Linked DNA regions of Homo sapiens: regions 1, 2, 3, 4, 5 and 6 are each linked to region 7. The links are contacts of gene promoters, found by promoter capture Hi-C in blood cells and fetal thymus (Javierre and others, 2016). All regions are on one chromosome and are shown on one strand. Each heading gives the region's core, a stretch centred on a gene start or on the middle of the fragment in contact. The rest is flanking DNA. Distances are from core to core; before and after follow the strand shown.

The links. Contacts are between HindIII fragments. The CHiCAGO score rates a contact against its expected background, and 5 or more counts as called.
Region 1: a contact is called between a fragment that was not itself captured here and the fragment with the promoter of NVL in region 7, in 3 of 17 cell types (erythroblasts, M0 macrophages and monocytes). The highest score is 6.5, in erythroblasts.
Region 2: a fragment that was not itself captured here is called in contact with the fragment with the promoter of NVL in region 7 in 1 of 17 cell types (total B cells); the score reaches 5.1 in total B cells.
Region 3: a contact is called between a fragment that was not itself captured here and the fragment with the promoter of NVL in region 7, in 7 of 17 cell types (monocytes, total B cells, naive CD8 T cells and 4 more). The highest score is 9.1, in monocytes.
Region 4: a fragment that was not itself captured here is called in contact with the fragment with the promoter of NVL in region 7 in 1 of 17 cell types (M2 macrophages); the score reaches 5.4 in M2 macrophages.
Region 5: a contact is called between a fragment that was not itself captured here and the fragment with the promoter of NVL in region 7, in 14 of 17 cell types (total B cells, naive CD8 T cells, erythroblasts and 11 more). The highest score is 11.6, in total B cells.
Region 6: a fragment that was not itself captured here is called in contact with the fragment with the promoter of NVL in region 7 in 1 of 17 cell types (M2 macrophages); the score reaches 5.7 in M2 macrophages.

What each region holds. Positions count from the first base shown.
Region 1 is chr1:223,722,994-223,725,693 of GRCh38, forward strand. All of the region lies in intron 2 of CAPN2 (calpain 2), which reads left to right. Among named protein-coding and RNA genes, the nearest start is that of CAPN2, 12 kb to the left of the region's middle. The HindIII fragment of the contact is 6,664 bases long and covers 1-2,700 here.
Region 2 is chr1:223,686,065-223,688,990 of GRCh38, forward strand. The region is part of intron 2 of LOC105373281 (a long non-coding RNA gene); the gene reads right to left. Among named protein-coding and RNA genes, the nearest start is that of CAPN8, 22 kb to the left of the region's middle. The HindIII fragment of the contact is 2,221 bases long and covers 429-2,649 here.
Region 3 is chr1:223,746,161-223,749,032 of GRCh38, forward strand. It overlaps CAPN2 (calpain 2), which reads left to right. Exons shown (of 21, transcript NM_001748.5): 5 at 837-1,005. Among named protein-coding and RNA genes, the nearest start is that of CAPN2, 35 kb to the left of the region's middle. RefSeq lists a silencer at 1,947-2,241. The HindIII fragment of the contact is 6,197 bases long and covers 1-2,872 here.
Region 4 is chr1:224,913,852-224,916,687 of GRCh38, forward strand. All of the region lies in intron 1 of LOC105373109 (a long non-coding RNA gene), which reads right to left. Among named protein-coding and RNA genes, the nearest start is that of DNAH14, 14 kb to the right of the region's middle. The HindIII fragment of the contact is 2,211 bases long and covers 214-2,424 here.
Region 5 is chr1:223,706,535-223,709,338 of GRCh38, forward strand. LOC105373281 (a long non-coding RNA gene) reads right to left here and starts at 1,116. Exons shown (of 3, transcript XR_949164.2): 1 at 834-1,116. It also overlaps a transcript of CAPN2 not described here. RefSeq lists enhancers at 125-1,324, 1,325-1,824. The HindIII fragment of the contact is 175 bases long and covers 1,253-1,427 here.
Region 6 is chr1:223,778,556-223,781,255 of GRCh38, forward strand. It overlaps TP53BP2 (tumor protein p53 binding protein 2), which reads right to left. Exons shown (of 18, transcript NM_001031685.3): 18 at 1,338-2,339. The coding sequence ends at 2,298. Among named protein-coding and RNA genes, the nearest start is that of TP53BP2, 66 kb to the right of the region's middle. The HindIII fragment of the contact is 5,248 bases long and covers 1-2,700 here.
Region 7 is chr1:224,328,845-224,331,567 of GRCh38, forward strand. NVL (nuclear VCP like) reads right to left here and starts at 1,328. Exons shown (of 23, transcript NM_002533.4): 1 at 1,227-1,328. The coding sequence starts at 1,283. RefSeq lists enhancers at 896-1,035, 1,086-1,135, 1,326-1,375, 1,396-1,545. The HindIII fragment of the contact is 14,633 bases long and covers 1-2,723 here.

The DNA.
Region 1 (2,700 bases), core at 195-2,694, 610 kb before region 7:
GAGATTTTGTAAGATGCCTGTCTATTGGAATTTGTGGTGCCTTTTTAATAAGTATGCAGTGGCTCACACCTGTAATCCCAGCACTTTGGGAGGCTGGGGCAAGAGGATCGCTTGAACCCGAGTTTGGGACCAGCTTGGGCAACATAGCAAAACTCTGTCTCTACAAAAAAATTACCTGGGCTTGGTGGCACATGCCTGTCGTCCCAGCTACTCGGGAGGCTGAAGCAGGAGGATCACTTGAGCCCAGGAGGTAGAAGCTGCTGTGAGCCGTGCACTCCAGCCTGGTTCTGGAGCCACTGCACTCCAGCCTGGGCAACAGAGGGAAAACTTATCTCAAAAAGTAAATAAATAAGTACCCATGTAGTTAAAATGTTTAAAGACTAGCAAATAGATGTTGGCTGGTTTGATGGAGAAAGTAAATCCATTCTTTTTCTTAAAAATGATCTCTTCACCACCAGTCCCAGCACCCCCCTTACCAGCCTCCCAGGGCACTGTCCATGGCTACATTGTCCATGGGCCATCATGTCCCCTCGGCTTCTCTTCTGGTTGTAAATGCTCTTGCACTTTTCTCCCTTGTGGCTGCCGTCCACACTCCCAGCTGCCTTCCCTCTGCACTTAAGATCTAAGATCTTAGAGACGAGATGAGACATCTCTTGCCTTCGTGCATCTAAGACAGCTCATCAACAGGTCCAGGTGAACTGCTAACACTGCTGTGTTGCTTGGAGGCCCCTGTCCCACCCTGGCTGCCTCAGCTTTGGCCATGGTACCCACGGTCTCCAGCTACATCAGATGCCTGAAGAACAAATCTCTCCTTAGCTCTCCCTGCCCCCTCTCCAGGAATAGGAGCAGTGGGACCCCCTTCAAGAATCCCCCATTTCCCATATACTTTCCTGCAAAGCCACAGGGCGTGCAAAGTGGGATTCCAGGGCTCCAGCCTGCTCCCCATGGGCCTCTGGATCCAGGGGTGACTCTTTGCCTGTTTGGGTGCCTCTTTAGATTTTCCACCAGCTTCCTGTGGCCAGGAGCCAGACCACGCCCCTATACGGCCATAGTTGTCTTATCTTGTCTCTGAGATTAGAAGGTTGGAACAGATTTTCCTGATGCCCCACTACTTCTGACATTCTGTGACTTTAGAATGTTACCTTCCTCGACAGCCCCCTGCACCCTCACACATCTGGCTTTAGCTGGACTGGTGTTTGTGAGGAATTATATCTCCACCTTGTTCAGCACCAGTCCCCAAGAAGACCAGCCAAGGGACACTCATCTGGGGATTTGAGAAATGAAGGACCGTGGGTTCCATGAGGTCTGTTGGGGTCCTGGCTAGCAACACTGTCTGGATGATTGAGCCCCAGGAGGAGGTGGCCTGGCCAGCAGGTGTGCAGTGAGGCCACTTCTAGACCACCCCTGTCCCATAGAGCTTCTAGTGATGATGGAAACCGTGTATATCTGCACTGCTCCAAACAGCAGCACTAGCCCTGTGTGGCTGTGGAGCACTTGAAATATGACTCATGCAACTGAGAAACTGAATTTGTAATTTTATTTAATTTAAATGTAAATAGCCACATGTTCCTTGTGGCTGCTGCACTGCACAGCAGCAGACTGTTGCGCTCTGGAATCCAGCCTCTCAGCCTTTACTCTCCAAAGCGGGATAGTATTCACATCAGAGCCAAACAATGCACAGACGTCAATAAACAGGCAGGGCATGGTGGCCCATGCCTGTAATCCCAACACTTTGGGAGGCTGAGGTGGGAGGGTCCCTTCAGCCCAGGAGTTCAAGACCAGCCAAGCAACATAATGAGAACCCATTTCCACAAAAAAAAATTTTTTTAATTAGCTGGGCATGGTGGTGTGCACCTGTAGTTCCAGCTACTTGGGAGGCTGAGGTGGGAGGATCACTTTGAGCCCAGGAGGTCAAGGCTGCAGTGAGTCGTGATTGCACCATGACATTCTAGCCTGGGTGATGGAGTGAGACCTTGTCTCAAAACAAACAGCTAAACCTACATCAATAAACATCTGTAAATATCAGGGTAGCGAATGAGGACTTGGTGTCTGGCAGTTAGGGACTGGCCTCTTATTCTGCCACATACTGGCTCTGTCATTTTGAGTGGATCACTATCCTCTTCACACCTCAGTTTCCTCATCCGTGAAATGAAGATAATAATAGTGCCTACTATCAAGACCATCCTGGCTAACACGGTGAAAACCCATCTCTACAAAACTACAATATGAAATACAAACAATTAGCCGGGCGTGGTGGCATGCACTTGTAGTCCCAGCTACTCAGGAGGCTGAGGCAGGAGAATCGCTTGAACCTGAGAGGTGGAGGTTGCAGTGAGCCATGATCGCACCACTGCACTCCATCCTGGGCAATAGAGCGAGACTTCATCTCAAAAAAAAAAAAATTGTGTCTACCTCAGAGGACTGTAAAGATGAAATGAAATAATAGACATATAAAGCTCAGAGCTCCAGAGGCTGGTACATAGTAAAGGTTTAATCCATGCAGATTGCACGTTCTCTTTGGGGACAGTACAGCTGGAGGGGAGTACTGTCAAATGAGGTCGCGTCGCTGAGGTGGAGACACATTGTGGCACATCTTGAATACCCGACTGGGTCCCAGCTTTAGCACTTGACATTGGCGGCCACCTAAGTTTTGGAGAGGGGTATGACAGAGGAGGTGGTGTCCCAGGGGGAAGGTCCGGA
Region 2 (2,926 bases), core at 289-2,788, 640 kb before region 7:
GACTGCAGCTTTATCTCCATTGAGCACCAACTCCACATTTCCCACTCCTTGTATCCTCTAGCAACCATCATTCTACTCCTAGACTACTTTGTGACTCAGTTTCTCTGTCACTTAAGAGAAGAGAGGCTCCATTGCTGACTGCAGGGATTGCTTCTGTATATGCAGGCCTTCTTGCATCTATAGGATTAGGTTTACTGCAGGGAAAAAAGGTAAGAGAAATATACATCATATGGGTTTTTGGAGGAAGAAAAGAGGCGACAGCACAAAATGGATGAGGTTTTCGTGTTGGGTGTCCTGCACACAGGACTCAGCAGCCCTGCCATGTATCTATCTGCCCAACTCTTTCCCATGGAGTTCATCTTGTGGGCCACTTCCAAATTATAGATCCACAGGCAAGTTTCACAGCTCTGTCGCTGTCACCTGTGGCAAGCTTCTCATAGTGCCTCTGTGGCTTAATGTCATGAGCCCCTCCATTGTGAGCATTCTGTTTAGGGTCCTGCACCATCACAGCCTGGCAATGAGCTTCAGATGTTTTGCCATAACCTTAGATTTAAGTCATCAAGCAGCAGGACCAAGACCTATCATGCATTTACTTTTGTTTTTGGCTTAATTTGAGTTGGTTTTTTTCCTTGTACAAAAAGAATCTCTGTACACAGACTCCTATTAATTTTTTTAATTAATAGTTTTATTTTTCAGAGCAGTTTTAGCTTTACAAAAAATTGAGAAGAAAGTAAGATGTTCACACACACACAGCTTCCCAATTATTAATGTCTCACACTAGTGAGGTACATTTGTTAAAATCGATGAACCTATGTTGACATGTCATTATCACTGTAGTTTACTTTAGGGTTCCCTCTTAGTATGGTATATTTTATGGGTTTTGACAAATATATGATAATATGTATCCACCATTATAGTATCAGACAGAGTATTTTCACTGCCCTAAAAATCCTCTGTGCTTTGCCTGTTCATCTACCCCTCACCAAACACCCAGAAATCTTTTTTTTTTACTGTCTCCATTGCTCTGCCTTTTCCAGAATGTCATATATTTGGAATTATATGTTATGTAGCCTTTTCAGACGGACTAGTGATATGGTTTGGCTGTGTCCCCACCCAAATCTCATCTTGAATTGTAGCTCCCACAATTCCCACATGTTGTGGGAGGGACCCGGTGGGAGGTAATTGAATCATGGGGAAAAATGATTTGAGCATCTATCATCACAAACAACCCCATTCTATCTCTAATAATGACTTTTGCGGGTCTTTGCAGTGCTGTTCTCATGATAGTGAATCAGTCTCACAAGATCTAATGGTTTTAAAAATGGGAGTTTCCCCGCACAAGGTCTCTCTTGTCTGCTGCCATATAAGATGTGCCTTCACCTTCTGCAATGATTGTGAGGCCTCCCCAGCCATGTGAAACTGTGAGTCAATTAAACCTCTTTTTCTTTATAAATTACCCACTCTCAGACATGTCTTTTTCAGCAGCATGAAAATGGACTAATACAACTTATTTCACTTAGTAATATGTATTTAAGTTTCTTCAATGTCCTTTCATAACTTGATGGCTCCTTCCTTTCTTGCTTTCTTTTTTTTAATTTTAACTATACAATAAAGCACTAAGCTAAAGAAATTAAACTATGGAATATCTATCTGCTGGCTGGTGGGGAAAATGTGAGGAGCCTGGAGCTTCCTGGAAACACACAATTTCCTCCACAATCTTCGCTGACCTTCCCTTGAGTTATCCCTCTTCCTTTTTAACATTCCTCTTGATTTGAGCCTCTATCATCACAAACAACCTCATTCTAACTCTAATAATGATTTTTGCCTTAAAGTATTATGTCTGATTTTAATATAGTTATGCCAGCTTCCTTCTCATACTGTTCACATAGTATATCTTTTTCCATCATTTTATTTTCAACCTTTCTATATCTGTATCTTTATGCATCATTCTGTTAATATATATCAATCCATCAGTGACTGATTCTCTGATTCCCTAATGTTTAAGCAATTTCCTTTTTTTTTTTTTTTTCTTTTTGAGACAGGGTCTTGCTCTGTCACCCAGGCTGGAGTGCAGTGGCACGATGATGTCTCACTGCAGCCTGAACGTCCCAGGCTCAAGTGATCCTCCCACCTCAGCCTCCCAAGTAGCTGGGATTACAGGCACACATTACCATACCAGGTTAATTTTTTTTTAATTTTTTGTATAGACAGAGTCTCACTATGTTGCCCAGCTGGTCTCAAACTCCTGGCCTCAAGCGATCCTCCCACCTTCACCTCAAAGTGCTGGAATTACAGGCGTGAGTCACCACACGAGGTCAATCTACTATTCTTGACCTCAGCTATTGGCTGTGATATATTATCATATATAGAGAGCTGGATTTGGTTTGCTACTGTTTTCTTCAGAAGAGAAAGCAGGATGTTGCTCAGCCTGGGAGGGTCATGCCCTTGGTTGAGTTAGCTCTCTGCAACTGAAACAAACTCTAAAGGATTTGAGACCTGGAAACTTTCTGCTAATCCCACCTCCCAAAGTTGGGGCAGTTCACATCCAATGACTGATAGAAGTAAGGTATAAAGACACAGACATTTTGGCTTAATCTAGCATCTCTGATGGGCCGTGTATGGTCCAGAACATCCCATAGGAATGGCCAAAGCTTTGTCACAATTGCATCACATTTTGACTTTTCCCTCTGCCCAAGACTGCTTCCTCCTCCTCTCATCCACGGATGTTGATTCCTAATAAATACTCTGTACACCAAGCACAGTCTCGGCATCTACTCCTGGAAAACCAGCAACAAGGTCAGCAGGGCTAGCTAGCTTCATGGGCAGCAACCTATGCAGTCATAAGGGCCCTGCTCCAAGAGGGGCCCCATGCTTAGGTTAATACTCTTGTCAACTAACGAGTGGTGAGGTTCATAAATTTTGAAAT
Region 3 (2,872 bases), core at 54-2,553, 580 kb before region 7:
TCCAGGAAGGAGGAGTCAGCTGTGAGAACCTGGAGCCTGACGGATGCTTCTAAGTCCCACTGCTCAATACTGGGGTCAGGGAAGCCACCGGACTCCAGCATCAGCAGTCAGGAGCACTAAGCCCTTGCCAACACCGTGCCTGTTTCTCAGAGAAACTGCTTCCATTATTGAATGGTTGTCCTTTTTTAAGCTATCAATGCCAAACGACCCATTAGTAGACCTCCCCTTTCTTGTCAGGATGTAGAAGGAATCAATACAGGAGGTTCATCCAGAAAATCACTAAGGTCCTTCCGACTCTAAGGTTCTACGAGAATCTTTTTTTTTTTTTTTTTTTTTAATACGGAGCCTCATTCTGTCACCCAGGCTGGAGTGAGCGGCATGATCTCAGCTCACTGCAATTTCCACGTTCTGAGTTTCAGCAATTCTTTTGCCTCAGCCTCCCAAGTAGCTGGGACTACAGGCATGCACCACCATGCCCAGCTAATTTTTTTGTATTTTTAGTAGAGATGGTGTTTTGCCATGTTGGCCAGGCTGGTCTTGAACTCCTGACCTCAAGTGATCCGCCCACCTCGGCCTCCCAGAGTGCTGGGATTACAGGCATGAGCTACCGCGCCCGGCCTGAGATTTTCTTTAAAACACAAAATACCAGGGAAATGGTAACTGTGGACATTATACCTTGCCTTCCTGAGCACCCCGAGCTGGGAACAAGGCCAAGGAGAATGTGAGCAGGGGGTCCCTGGAGCATCAAATCTAGACGGTACTAGGGGGTGGCTGTTTGAGAGATTATAGCATCAGTAGTGTCAAGGGTAGCGGCAGCGTCTAATCCCCTCTTGTAGGATCAACGGATGCTATGAAGCGCTATCAGGGGGTGCCACCACTGAGGGCTTCGAAGACTTCACCGGAGGCATTGCTGAGTGGTATGAGTTGAAGAAGCCCCCTCCCAACCTGTTCAAGATCATCCAGAAAGCTCTGCAAAAAGGCTCTCTCCTTGGCTGCTCCATCGACGTAAGTCCAGGCTGCCTTCCCTAGCCTCACCCCATCTGCTCTTGCTGAAGGGAGGCTCCCACAGTGCCCAAGGGAACCCACTGCTCCTGTGTACAACGTAATGCAGCCCTCGTCCACGTAGGGGCCAAAGGAAAACCTCCCTCCACCCTCTGAAGGTCCGCTGAAAATCAACTGGCAAAAGGAAGACTAATACAAGAAATGGCATACAAATGTATGAATGTGGACAGGGGAGAATCACAAGAGATTTCCCTACCACGCATTGGGATACAGAGGGTTATATTCCCTTCCTCTTAGGGGAAGGGAGATGGGGAGGTGCGGATGATTTTAGGGATGTCGTAAATGATTTTTAGGGGAATTCATTGGGCTTAAAGAACATAAATGGTCTGGGATAAAGTCTGTTGGGCCTGCAGAGCAGACAGTGGTTTGTGACAAGTCTGTCTAGCCATGTTGACAGACTTGTCTTTCTTCCTGCAATATGAGTTCAGTTCATAATAACTCATGGAAAGGACCAGACGTCATTGTTTTCATCTTTGGCAGGTCCAGACTTTAGGCAGGTGAGGGAACTTCAGAGAATAGCTTCCTCCTGTGCTTTGGGGGAGAGTGGATCGAGAGACAGAAGGAAAGGGGAGGTCAGAGAGATCTTGAGGCTTCTTCAGTTTAGCATTTCAAAGTGCCATCTCTTAGAGGTATTGGTTTCTGAGCACCCCAGTGTCTACCATTATTGCTCATCACCTGGAAGCCAAGGGTTGCTAGGCAAAAGTCAAGCTGTCTGGGGTGTAATGGATGGGGTGATGGTGCCTCCAGCCCTTCTGTCTTCAGTCCACTTCCCACTCTTAGCCTGCTCTGAATCACCCCCACCCCTCTGACCACAGGTTCCCTGGGAGCCCCTGCCACCTGCTGCCCCTGCCACCTTCCCCTCCATCTGCAGTGCTGTGCAGCCTTCCCCTGCACTCTTGCAGAGCTAATAGGCCCGTGGGAGACTTCGGAAGGAAGAGGAGGAAAGATTTCCTCATAATAGCCTTGCTGGCAACGCTCACCAGGGGATGGGAGGTGGGCACTGTGCCCAGGAGCCTTGGAGCAAAGGCTGTGCCCAACCTCTGAGCCCTGTCCCATCCAGGTTCTGGTCTCTGCGGGGGACAGAGATAAGAAGCCCTGGCTTTTGGAGCCAAAATCTAGGTCAGACTCCCTAGGCAGGAATTCTCAAAGTTTATCAGCAGAACACGTTGAGGCAGAAGACCCTTTCTGCTCCAGCCCTTCTTCCCAGGCTCAACCTTCATCAGAATAGATAGGGGAAAGGAGAGGCTGTGAGGCGTTCTTAAAACAGAAGCAAATTCTGACTCAGACCGGAATAAACAACCGTCCTAGTATAAACCCTACAGCTGGGCTGGGCCAGACCACGGAGCATGGGCTGGTGGTGGGGCGAGGGTGTGCTCAGTGTCCCTGGGCCACTCAAGGCTGTCTGGGTATCAGCCCTGCGCCATCGAGGACCCCCTCCGGCCCTCTCTCGGCCGTGCGCCCTTTCCCTGCGCCATCGAGGACCCCCTCCAGCCCTCTCTCGGCCGTGCGCCCTTTCCCGCCCTTCCCAGCCTGCAGAAATCCGTGGATGCGCTATTCACACGGGAATGCCTGTGCTCGTTCCGCGAGAGGGTTGCATTCCGCCTTTTCTCTGGTATTCTCGGCGTTCAAGCATTTGAACGGGGTAGGAAAGGTTCTCCAAGTGCAAGAAAGCGCAGCCCTGAGCCTCCCACCCCAGGCCTCGGCCGCTGCGCTAGTGCGTCCGGCGGTCCCGCCCGGCAGTAGGACAGAGGGAGCGAGGGAGTCCGGGAGGAAGGGAGAGCGGGTGCGGCCAGTCTGACGGTTGCTGTGT
Region 4 (2,836 bases), core at 69-2,568, 580 kb after region 7:
GTAGACCTCTGTTGTCTCCATAGAAGCTTATCAGTCAACTGAATTCATTTCTTCTTAAACCTTTAATTATAGGCACTCCTTTGTTCTGCTTCTCTTTTGATGACATAATTTTTGCCAATGATAATGTAAAACTTCCTTGACCTTTTGGAAATCTTGAATTCTCCCTCTATGAAATGTAAATTTGCTATCCTATTTTCTCTAAAATTCAGTAAAAGCTTTGGACATAACTTGTTCCATTTACAGAGGTACAATTTAATCCAAGTGTTCTTTTAAATGAGTGAGTTTTACTTGTCTTATGGCAGAAATTATAAAATCTATACTATAAAATATTTATTTTGTATTTTTACTATACATATATGCATGTCTGTGTTTGTATATTGCCTACCTGGTACCAAATTGACTTGTAAATAAATGAGTACTCATAAATTAAGTAAATATGTGCAAAAACTTTTCAAGTTCACATGACTTTAGTAATCTTTGATAAATAAAGCTAGTTTTAAAATTGCTGATAAAATAAAACTTGAATGTCTTCAGAACAGTCAGTATTAAATACAATTCAGACATTTTGCCTGGGACTACTGGTCAGAAAGGTTTAGACTGTCTCTGATAGAAGTTTTCAGGTCATAAAACTGTTGTTTTCTGTGACATTTTTGATAGCTGTTTGGTTTATCTATGATCTTATGTGTTTAGTTTTGAGCCTTCAGATTGTAAGGTCTAGACAAGTGCCCATAGTGAGGTCTGGTGACTTAGGCCACCCCAGCTTTGGTACAGAGCCAAGCCCAGGATGTCCTCCCTGACTCGGCTGTGCCTTCTAGCCATGCTGGGAGGAATCAGATCCTCCAGGACTTGTCTTCACAGCCTTCTCTGTCCTGGGTTCTACACCTGGTACATAACAATTAAAATTGCTTACTTCCTAGGTTTTTCAGTAAGAATTAGGGTTACTAAGAGTTAACATTGTAATTAATATATGTGATTAAAACTACTAGATGTAAGAGAAACTATTCTGTATATAAAGTGTAAAAGAAAAATAGGATGTGTTTTGGTAAAGAAAGTTTTCTAAAAAGATGTTAAAATGTTTAACAGATAAGTAAGTTTGCCTGGCTTAAAGGTGATGTAAAAGTTATTTAAATTAAAAAAGATAAACTAAACATATATAAAAAACTGGGGAAAAAGAAAATGGGAAAAATTGTAATAGGTTATAAAAGGCTTATGAAAATCTTATGCTGTGTGATCAAAGCTGATCAAGATTCGATGGATCTGTATATAAGGTTTTATTAAAATTAGATTTAATAATAATACATTGATACAAGGGTTACATTTGTTTTTTTCTTCTGAACAATATTTTCATATAGTATTAATAAGATATAGTAAAATATTTTTGTTCACCTTTTCAGTAAATTGCAAAATTTTTAAAAGGAGAGGAGAATGGGAGAGATAATCTGATGCTGCCTTTATTAGGTCTTTTGATTGGAAAACTGAGTTGCTGCTCTATTGAGTAAAAGTTTTTGCTTTCTGAAATCTTTGAATTATCACTTTAGCTAAATAGATGACTATTATTTTAGAGTGACCTGTGATTTATTTTAATATCAAGTGTCTTCAACCTTTGATATTTGACATACCTCCCAAAAACAAAATTCAAATTCTAAAATTGAGTCTTTTTGACCTCAAAGTAACTCTTGGACATTCAAAAAAATGGAGGGCTCTTGAAAATCCAAGAGGGACATATTAGGCTTATTGGGATGTTAAAGGGATGTTAAAATCATATGGGAAGTATTATCCAATAAGAAATGGTGTTTGACTTTCTTTGAATTATCTTTGTGTGGATGTTATTAATGTATGCTCTCCAAAATTGTATGAGGTTTTATAAAAATCTGATATGTCTTGATATATGCAGTAAATCACTTTTTATCCTCAAACCTTTTTGCAAATGCTAAAGCATTGTGTCTTCAAGGAAATTAATGGAAAGGACTATGACAAGTACTCTTGAATACAGGTTTCTGATAACTTTGGAGATTATACCATTGGATGAGGTAAAAACATTCAGAACTCTAATAAAAAACTGATGGGTTTATAAACATTGCTAACCCAATTTCAAACACAGCAAAAGTTAATTACATAGGACTGAATGACAGAAGACTGAAATAATTTGTTATGACTTCATTTTGTTTGAAATACTGCTGATTGTTTTTATATTTTGCTTTCTAGAGTCAATACATTTTTTAAGCTATTTATAGTTTACAGCAATTGAGTAAAGTATACTTTTGTGAGAAAAATTGAAACATTTACCTTTCTCTCTACCTGATTTCTCTAGAATTTGAAAATTGTATTCTCATTTTATTGCAATGTGGCTATTTGTATAAGTTCAATAAGAATCTCTTTTCCTTTTGTAACAGGACACATTGGAAACACTGGTTATTTTACTAAAGCTTTGAATGGAATGTCATATTTTCAAGTTTGAGCAGACTGCTTTGAGGGATTAATGTTGACTTTATAAAACCAAGACTTGGAAAAAATGGCCTGGTACCTTGTCTATATTTTTCCTTTGCAGGATCCTGACCTTGGGGTAAGTAATGCCACTTTCTGATAGGCACAGAAACCTCAAGATATTTGGGGATCTTTGGAAGACAGGCTATTTTGGGACCTTTGGAAGATAGGAATTCAACTGATTTATGAGCTGTCCTCAACCTTGCCCCAAATAAACTCTCTGTATCAACATTGCCTCAGGTTTTTTCTTTTGGTCAACACTTAAAAGTCATCTTATCCTTAGAAACTCTTGCCCTTCTAGAGTAATTATTTTATATACTAAAAATTGATCTGCATCAAAAATATTACTGCT
Region 5 (2,804 bases), core at 90-2,589, 620 kb before region 7:
CTACACTGGGTATGGACAGACCCCAAGGGACCATGGTCTAGGTGTTGGCAGCCAGGCTGGCTCTACAACACAACATGTCAGCTGCTCTGCTGGGCCTCTGTTTACTCATCCATTAAATGAGGAGATAAGATCTCCCTTGACTGGCTGTGAAGATTAAGTGCACAAATATGTGTAAAGTGCACAAATATGTCAAATAAAAACTGAGACTGACACGTGGAGGTGCAAAATTAAAAAGGAAGCTTTGGTTAGTATCTCCAGAACCTGGCTAGGCACGGTGGCTCACATCTGTAATCTCAGCGCTTTGGGAGGCCGAGATGGGTGGATCACCTGAGGTCAGGAGTTCAAGACCAGCCTGGACAACATGGCGAAACCCCGTCTCTATTAAAAATACAAAAATTAGCTGGGCATGGCAGTGAGCCCCTGTAATCCCAGCTACTCAAGAGGCTGAGGCAGGAGAATTGCTTGAACCCGGGAGGCGGAGGTTGCAGTGAGCCGAGATCACGCCACTGCACTCCAGCCTGGGTGACAGAGTGAGACTCCACCTCAAAAAAAAAAAAAAAAAAATCCAGAACCTGCAGATTGTGCCTCTGATGCATCTCAAACATCCAGGGCCAGGGAGAAAATAATCTAAAGAAAAATACTACTGAAAAAGATTCCATTGCCATGGCCCTCTGAGACACACACATTCTTATTCTCTTATTTTCTCTCTCTCTCTCTCTTCTTCTCTCTCTCTCTCTTTCTATCTCTCTCTCTCACTCCCTCTCTCATTTACTCACAAGGTCAGTGGCCCAGACCCAGGCAGTTCTGGATAATCCCAGCTGTTTCTGACTCACCACCATCCTCAGGGCTGGCTGACTCACTCCAGGAAGGTTTTCCACCATGAAGTGTTTGTCTATGTCCTTGTGTTCCCGTGAAAAGGATTGTGTGGTCAGAGAAAGAGAAGACTTTGCTGGGTCAGTGAGATAGCATAGTGTGAGAGGCTTTGGGAAGTAGAAAAAGCAACATTAACTCAGGTTTAAAAACTAGACTTTGTCCAAATGGTTGGGGAAAGTAGTCATTGTATGTGTTTGCAATTAAATTTGGGTGGCATAGGACAGCCTAAAGCCCTTTGTAAGCAGAGCTCTATGTGCGCAGCGATCCCTAGAAGGCTGGCAAGGGGAGTGGCCAGGGCTGCACCAAAGAGGGTGTTGCCTAGCTGGGGAAGAGGAACTTCAGGTGAGCCAGGAGGCTCTTCTGCTCCCAGGCTGTGCAAAGCTTCTGAGTTGACTGGAATGATAGGTCTGATCTGCCCATTTGTTGCTAAAATGACTTAGGAGGGAAATGACCTCCACCTGCCTGGGAGGAGTCACTTCCTCCAGAGATGAGCTGTCCTTGAGGAGATCAGTGGGAGGAGAAGCCTGCGCTCTGCCCCACTGGGCAGAAGGACAAGCTTTCTCCCAAGAGCCTCGAGCCCAGAAGAAGTCGGGGTGGGGCCAATGGAAATCAGACAGTGGAACAAATGAACAGCTTCCAGGACAGGGCTGTCGCTTTCCTCTGTTTTCAATTGTGATGGCTTCATGAAACCCTTGCACCAGAAACCCATGAGCTAGAAATGAATGCCTGTATCCCCATCTCTGGACTCAGAGTCCAGAGTGCCAACCATTACACAATGGAACCTGTGTCCCCGCCTTATTCAAGAGTAAAGAAAGCAAAGCCTGGTGGTGGACGGTGGTACCTGCCCATCAGGCAGCATGCCCAGACTTGCAAACCAGAGATGGAGGATGTCAAATAAAAACAAAACCATGGGAGACTGAGGCAGGAGAATCACTTGAACCGGGAGGCGGAGGTTGCAATGAGCCAAGATCGCGCCATTGCACTCCAGCCCGGGCAACAAGAGTGAAACTCTGTTTAAAAAAAAAAAAAAATCCAGACTTTTATAAAGGGACACTTCAATAGAAAGAAAGACTATTGCAGGCCAGGCGCAGTGGCTCACACCTGTAATCCTAGCACTTTGGGAGGCCAAAGCAGGTGGATCACCTGAGGTCAGGAGTTCAAGACCAGCCTGGCCAACATGAGGAAACCCCGTCTCTACTAAAAATACAAAAAAATTAGCTGCACATGGCGGCTGGTACCTGTAATCCCAGCTACTCAGGAGGCTGAGGCAGGAGAATCACTTGCACCCGGGAGGCGAAGGTTGCAGTGAGTGGAGATTGCACCACTGCACTCCAGCCTGGGCAACAAGAGTGAAACAAGAAAGAAAGAGCGAAAGAGAGAGAGAGAGAGAAAGAGAGAAGGAGAGAAGGAGAGGAAGGGAAGAAGGGAGGGAGAAAGAAAGAAAAAATAGAGAAAAAGAGAAGGAAGGAAGGAAAAGAAAGAAAAGAGAAGAGAAAAGAAAAAAAAAGAGAGAAAGACAATTCCAATTCAGAGAATCTGCAAGCAGCTCAAAATCAAACAGAAAAAGATTCTTCTTTTCTAGGGTAAAGGAGGAGCAAGTGGAGATAAGCAGACTCTTGGGAGGGGAAGCTGGACAAGTGAGGGGAAATGACCAGTGGGAGCTGACAGGAAAAGGGTCTTGCTGTGTTCAGTCAATTCCCAGGAGAAGCTGGGCAGGGAAGTGACTTGGCAGGGACACTCCACTTTGTTTGTGCTTGTTCAGGCTTGGGGGCAAGCAGCATTCAGGGATCTGTAGGAAAGAGAGAAGTCTGACCAAAGTTTTGTCAAGCAAAGGGGGTAAGCAATGGGTGTCAGAGACAAGAATAGATGGGGGCAGAGGAATAATAGTGACAAAAATACTTGCTTTAAGAAAAGGTAACATCATGGCTCTC
Region 6 (2,700 bases), core at 71-2,570, 550 kb before region 7:
GGTAAGTACGACAGCCCAGGACTAGAATCCATGTTGTTTCCTGTAGTTGTAACAAATTAAGACAAATTTAGTGGCCTAAAAAAATAGCCATTATCTCACAATTCTGTAGATGAGAAGTCCAACGCTGGTCTCATTGGACTAATGCATTCCTTCTGGAGACCTGGGGAGGATTCATTTCCAGCCAGGCCCACTCAGGTTAGCAGAGTTCAGTTCCATGTGGCCATCAGGACTGAAGTCCCCATCTCCTGGATGGGCCAGCCGGGGGTCTTTCTCAGCTTCCATGTTCCCTGACCCCCACATTCCATGATCCTCTTCATCTTTAAAGCCAATGACAGCAGGTCAAGTCTTCACACTCCAAGTCTTACTGCCCACCCACCTGCCCCGCCCACCCTCCTGCCTCAGCCCTCCTGCCTTCCTCTCCTGCCGTGAAGGGATCTTGTGATTACGGTGGCCCACCAGGACAATCTAGGCTAAACACCCTATTTTAAGGTCAACTGATTCGTAAACTTACTTAAATCTTAAAAGTCCTTCAAAGCAGTACAGTAAGTCGTCAAAACCTAGCATCACGGATAGGTTCTTGGTAACTGCAAATTAGAGCAAAATGATGTAAAACCAACCAACCAGAAACAGCAGGTCCTCGAATAACATCACTTCATGTTGTACCATTAGAACACTGATGAGAAAAAGAAATGGTTTTGTTACACACCTTTTCACTTTGAGTTTTGGCCAGGTGCAGTGGCTCACACCTGTAATCCCAACGCTTTGGGAGGCCTAGGTAGGAGGACCACTGGAGGCCAGGCATCAGAGACCAGCCCGGGCAGCATGACAAGACCCTGTCTCCCAAAAAAAAAAGAAAAGGAAGGAAAGAAAAGAAAAATAAAGTCACAGTTTCCAAGAACCTAATGATGATGTTAAGTAAGGACTTATTGTACCTACATTAGTGATACAAGGAATAACCAGGAGACAGGGATGGGGGTGCAGGGCATCTTTAGAATTCTGCCTACCACACGTCTTCGGATGTTTAGTTTATGTTGTCACTCCTTCTCCGTTACTCTCAAAAGTGTTATTCTCAAAATTATGTTCTTTCATCTACCTTCCTTGCTAGAATTTAGCTACTCATAAAAATGTGTAAGGAAGAGTGACCATGGTTTTTCATTTGTATCTTCTACTAAAGTAGTTCCACTAAGCAAATGGGTTTGGAAACAATTCACAAACCTATTAACATATTAATAAAATGATGTGGAGATTTTGCCTATATAAGTTTTCACCCCATAAATCAATGAGGACACTAAAACAGTCTATTAGAGGCTCTAGGTAAAATGTAAAGTAGGCTTCTATCACCATGATCTCTACAGTATTTTATTTTAAAAACCACTTACATTGAATCACTTAGCTGGTAAAAAACTCTTATTACGATACATATACTTATGTTAAGCAGTTTGTTCTTTTTCAGCTGGGTATGATATCCCAACGGCTTGTGACTATTAAACAAGGTCTATTTATGACATCAAAAACAAAAACCAGTAAACAGCTAGCATCAAAAAGTTTATTACAACTGTTTTTAAAGTCAGCTATGATCTTGACAAATATTACGGGTAAGTCTGTAGCAAGTTTCTAATTTCTGAGATACAAAAGACAATAAATACAGATTAAAATTCAGCCTACAAACAAGATTCTACATCTAATTACTGGTACCGTAGCTTAGTTTCAATATTTCAAACATATGTATAATTCTTAAGATGCTACAAAAACTCATATAATAAAGTTATTGTTCACTGACAACCAACTAACAGTTCTTCACTGACAATATACAAGTGTGCAGTGCCTTCGAGCCTTCAGGTGAGCCCCCCAAGGGCCTGCTGGTGCCGGGGACAATCAGAGACAGCGATGTGACGGCACTGGTCCTTTCTGGCAGGAGGACTGGTTTAGGAGCAGCTGCTGAAAACACTCAACAGGACAGAGAGCTGATTTCCCAACTGCCCAATAAATGATCCTATTTACTAGACAGGATTCTTGTAGAAAACAGGATTGTCGCTGTATACTTATCTGAGTGCTACACGGGACACCTTTGCCCCAACACAGTATGGCCTGCTGACGTAGATGCTTTATTTCATCACGCTAAATGTCCTCTAATGGTGAATTCTTCAATCCTTCATTCTCTTCTAGAGACATTCTTCATCGCTTTCAAGCTACATTGTCATTAAAATAAGTCTTGTGAAATTTTTGCCAAAAATAATCGTATTACTTCTTCTTAACAGAGATTAATTCTTCATTGACTAAAATTCTGTGTGGAAGTTTCAGGCCAAGCTCCTTTGTCTTGGTTTAATTCTTGGGTACAGCTGCAAGAGAGTTTAAAAAATTTTACATACTATAATAGATGTGTGGGAATATAACAAAATTTCAAGAAATAATGAGGTTAGGGGACAGATGTCATGGGAAGGAAATCAAAGTGAGAAAAGCACTCTTTGTGGTGTGTGTGGCACCTAGAGCTTTACGTTTAGCAACGTGGTCATAGCTAGACTCAGCAGGACGTTCAAAGATCACAAGGGCCCGTCAACTGTGACAACTCTACAAAGCAGCAATATAAAAACCCATGACAGTTCTAGGTATTAACTCAATCTGCACAGCTTGTTGAGCTGTAAATCGGCTCTATGTAAATCGGCTCTAACAAGGAAGGCAAACTGCTGTATGCTCTATGCT
Region 7 (2,723 bases), core at 78-2,577:
AGGCAGCTGGATATATCAATCTGTACTTCAAGATAAAATCTGGACTGGAGATATAAAGTTAGCAGTCATAAATATACAGAGGCCAGTGCAGCAGCTTGCACCGGTAATCCCAGCACTTTGGGAGGCTGAGGCCCGATCGCTTGAGCCCAGGAGTTAGAGACCAGCCAGAGTAACATAGTGGAACCCCGTCTCTACAAATAATAATAATAATAATAAATTAGCCAGGTGTGGTGGTGCACACCTGTAGTCCCAGCTACTGGGGAGGCTGAGGAGGGAGGATCACTTGAGTCAGGGAGGCCGAGGGTGCAGTGAGTTATGATTGTGCCCATAAACAGCCACTGCACTCTAGCCTGGGCAACAGAGCGAGACTATGTCTCAGAAAAATAAAAATAAAATGAAATAAATACATAGATAATAGAGTATGTAGATACTACTCAAAGGTTATTACACTAAATGAGATCACATAGGAAGTATGGATAGATAAGAAAGGTGTATGAGGAAAGAGGAGGAAGGGGAGGTAAGAGAACAGTGGCACAGAGCACTTCCAACATTTACAAGTTGGTAGGAAAAGATGGGTCCGAAAAGGAGATTGTTTAGGGGCTGGTGAAGTGAAAGAAAAACAAGGAGAATGTGTAGCTCACAAATTCCTAAGTGAAGAAAATTCTCTCCCACCTTTTAACTCAGACTGCTTGCTTACATTCTGAGGTATTTGCCACACACTGCTTTTTACTGATGGTCATGAAAATGAGAAAACCGTAGGCAAAGTGCCTGTTACTGTTGCCAGACCCATGTTATCTCGTTTTAGTGTGTAAGTTCCTTGAGAACGGAAATTAACATATTATTTATGCCACCCCTTCTCAAGGACCTCTTACAATGCGAGCGTTTGAAGACCATTCCTGTGCTAACTTCACAAGCCAAAGAGGTTAAAATTCAAAGGCTACCTCCACTCTACTGAATGATCTGCGCTGAAGACGACCAGACAACTTGGGCAGCCCTACCAAGCTGCACCCTCCCACCATCCCCGGCTTCTCCCTGAGACTCCGCACCAACGTGGGTAGGGAAGGCCCCGGCAGCACCAACTAAGGAGAAACAGACGCACGCCCAGACCCAGACTGGGGAAAGAAGACTAGTTGAGTTCCACCTGGATGCCACCCGACAAAAGGGGAGTGGCACCCTGGGGCAGCGATCGGGGCCCTTGGCGAGGCCAAGCGGTGCAGAATACACACCTGGATGACTCGCTGCTTGAGTTTATTATCCACGAACCCTGCAGGTCTGGGCTTCATCGCGTCGGTCTTCCAAGCCACAGCTCGGACCGCCAGCTCCTAGTCAACCGGGGGCCTCGTAGGGGTTGCCCGCCGCGATCGCCGGGCCAGTTGCACCTGAAATGCGCCCCTCCTGGGGCCTAGCCCGCGCCGTTTCCGTCAGAATAAAAGTAATGCGAATGAAGGGGAAAAAATTCCGAGGAGAGGGAGAAGACTTGAAAACCTCAGGGAGTTTCTAGGGGCCTTATTTTGCAGGCCTGCCCAGTGGACCCTGGAAGATTAGGACCCCTTTGAACGCGCTCAACTTTATTGGTTCCCCGCCGGGCGAACCAGGTGGGAGGAAGTTCCTACCCCGGCGCGGTGTGCGGAGACGCTGTCAACGGCGTCCTCTGGAAAACTTGGTTTGCTTTCCTCAGGCGTTCCAGCCACACCTCATTCTGATACAAAGCTAGTCTTCGCAAAACCAGCCACGGTAGATACTTGGAGTGATAAAATCAGGGTAAAAACACACCACCAGCCGCTGCTTGCTTTCCCACGTAGTTATCTTACATTTTAGAGGCCCGACAAAAGGGCTAGGTGAAAAAGAAAAGGAAGGACGGATTTATCCAGATAACTAAGTCATTTGTTACTTTTAGAACTCGTTTGACTTACGCTGTTATCATCGGCAGGTAATTTGTTGAATATATCCAGTGCAGGACTCCTTGGCCCAGAATTTTATCAAACGTTTGTATTTGCCCCAAGAAGTTTATCCTGCACTTAGGGAGACACAAAGGGACAGTTACCAAGCATTAAAAAAAAAATGCTGGCTTTAGTTTCTGTCTTCTTGTTTATTTCAACCGTGTTTTGAGTATTCTTATTTCAGGTCCTCCTTGGCTTATGACAAGGTTAAGTGCAGTGTATTAAGGGGCAGAGGGGAGAGAAAATGGAATTAAGAGAAGGGCGTGAGGCCGGGCACGGTGGCTCACACCTGTAATCCCAGCACTTTGGGAGGCCGAGGCGGGCAGATCACTTGAGGTCAGGAGTTCACGACCAGCCTGGCCAACATGGTGAAACCTTGTCTCTACTAAAAATATAAAAATTAGCACTGAATTAAGTATTAGATTTCCCACTCAAAATATTGATCCGTTTGGTTGCAACTTCATTTCCTACTTCTTCACTATGTGTAGTTTTATTTTTTATTTTTTTAGTTGTAAAATATAAGAACATTCACCATCTTAAACATTTTAAAGTGTGCAGTTTAGTGATAATACATTCATAATATGCAACCATCACTGCCATCTAGTTCCAGAACTCTTTTCATCTTGTACAACTAAAACTCTATACTAATTAAAAAATAACTCCCCATTCCTCCCTCCCCCCAGCCCCTGGCAACTACCATTCTACTTACTGTCTTTATGATTTTGACTACACTAACTTCCTCATATAAGTGGAATCTTCCAGTATTTGACTTTTGTGACTGGC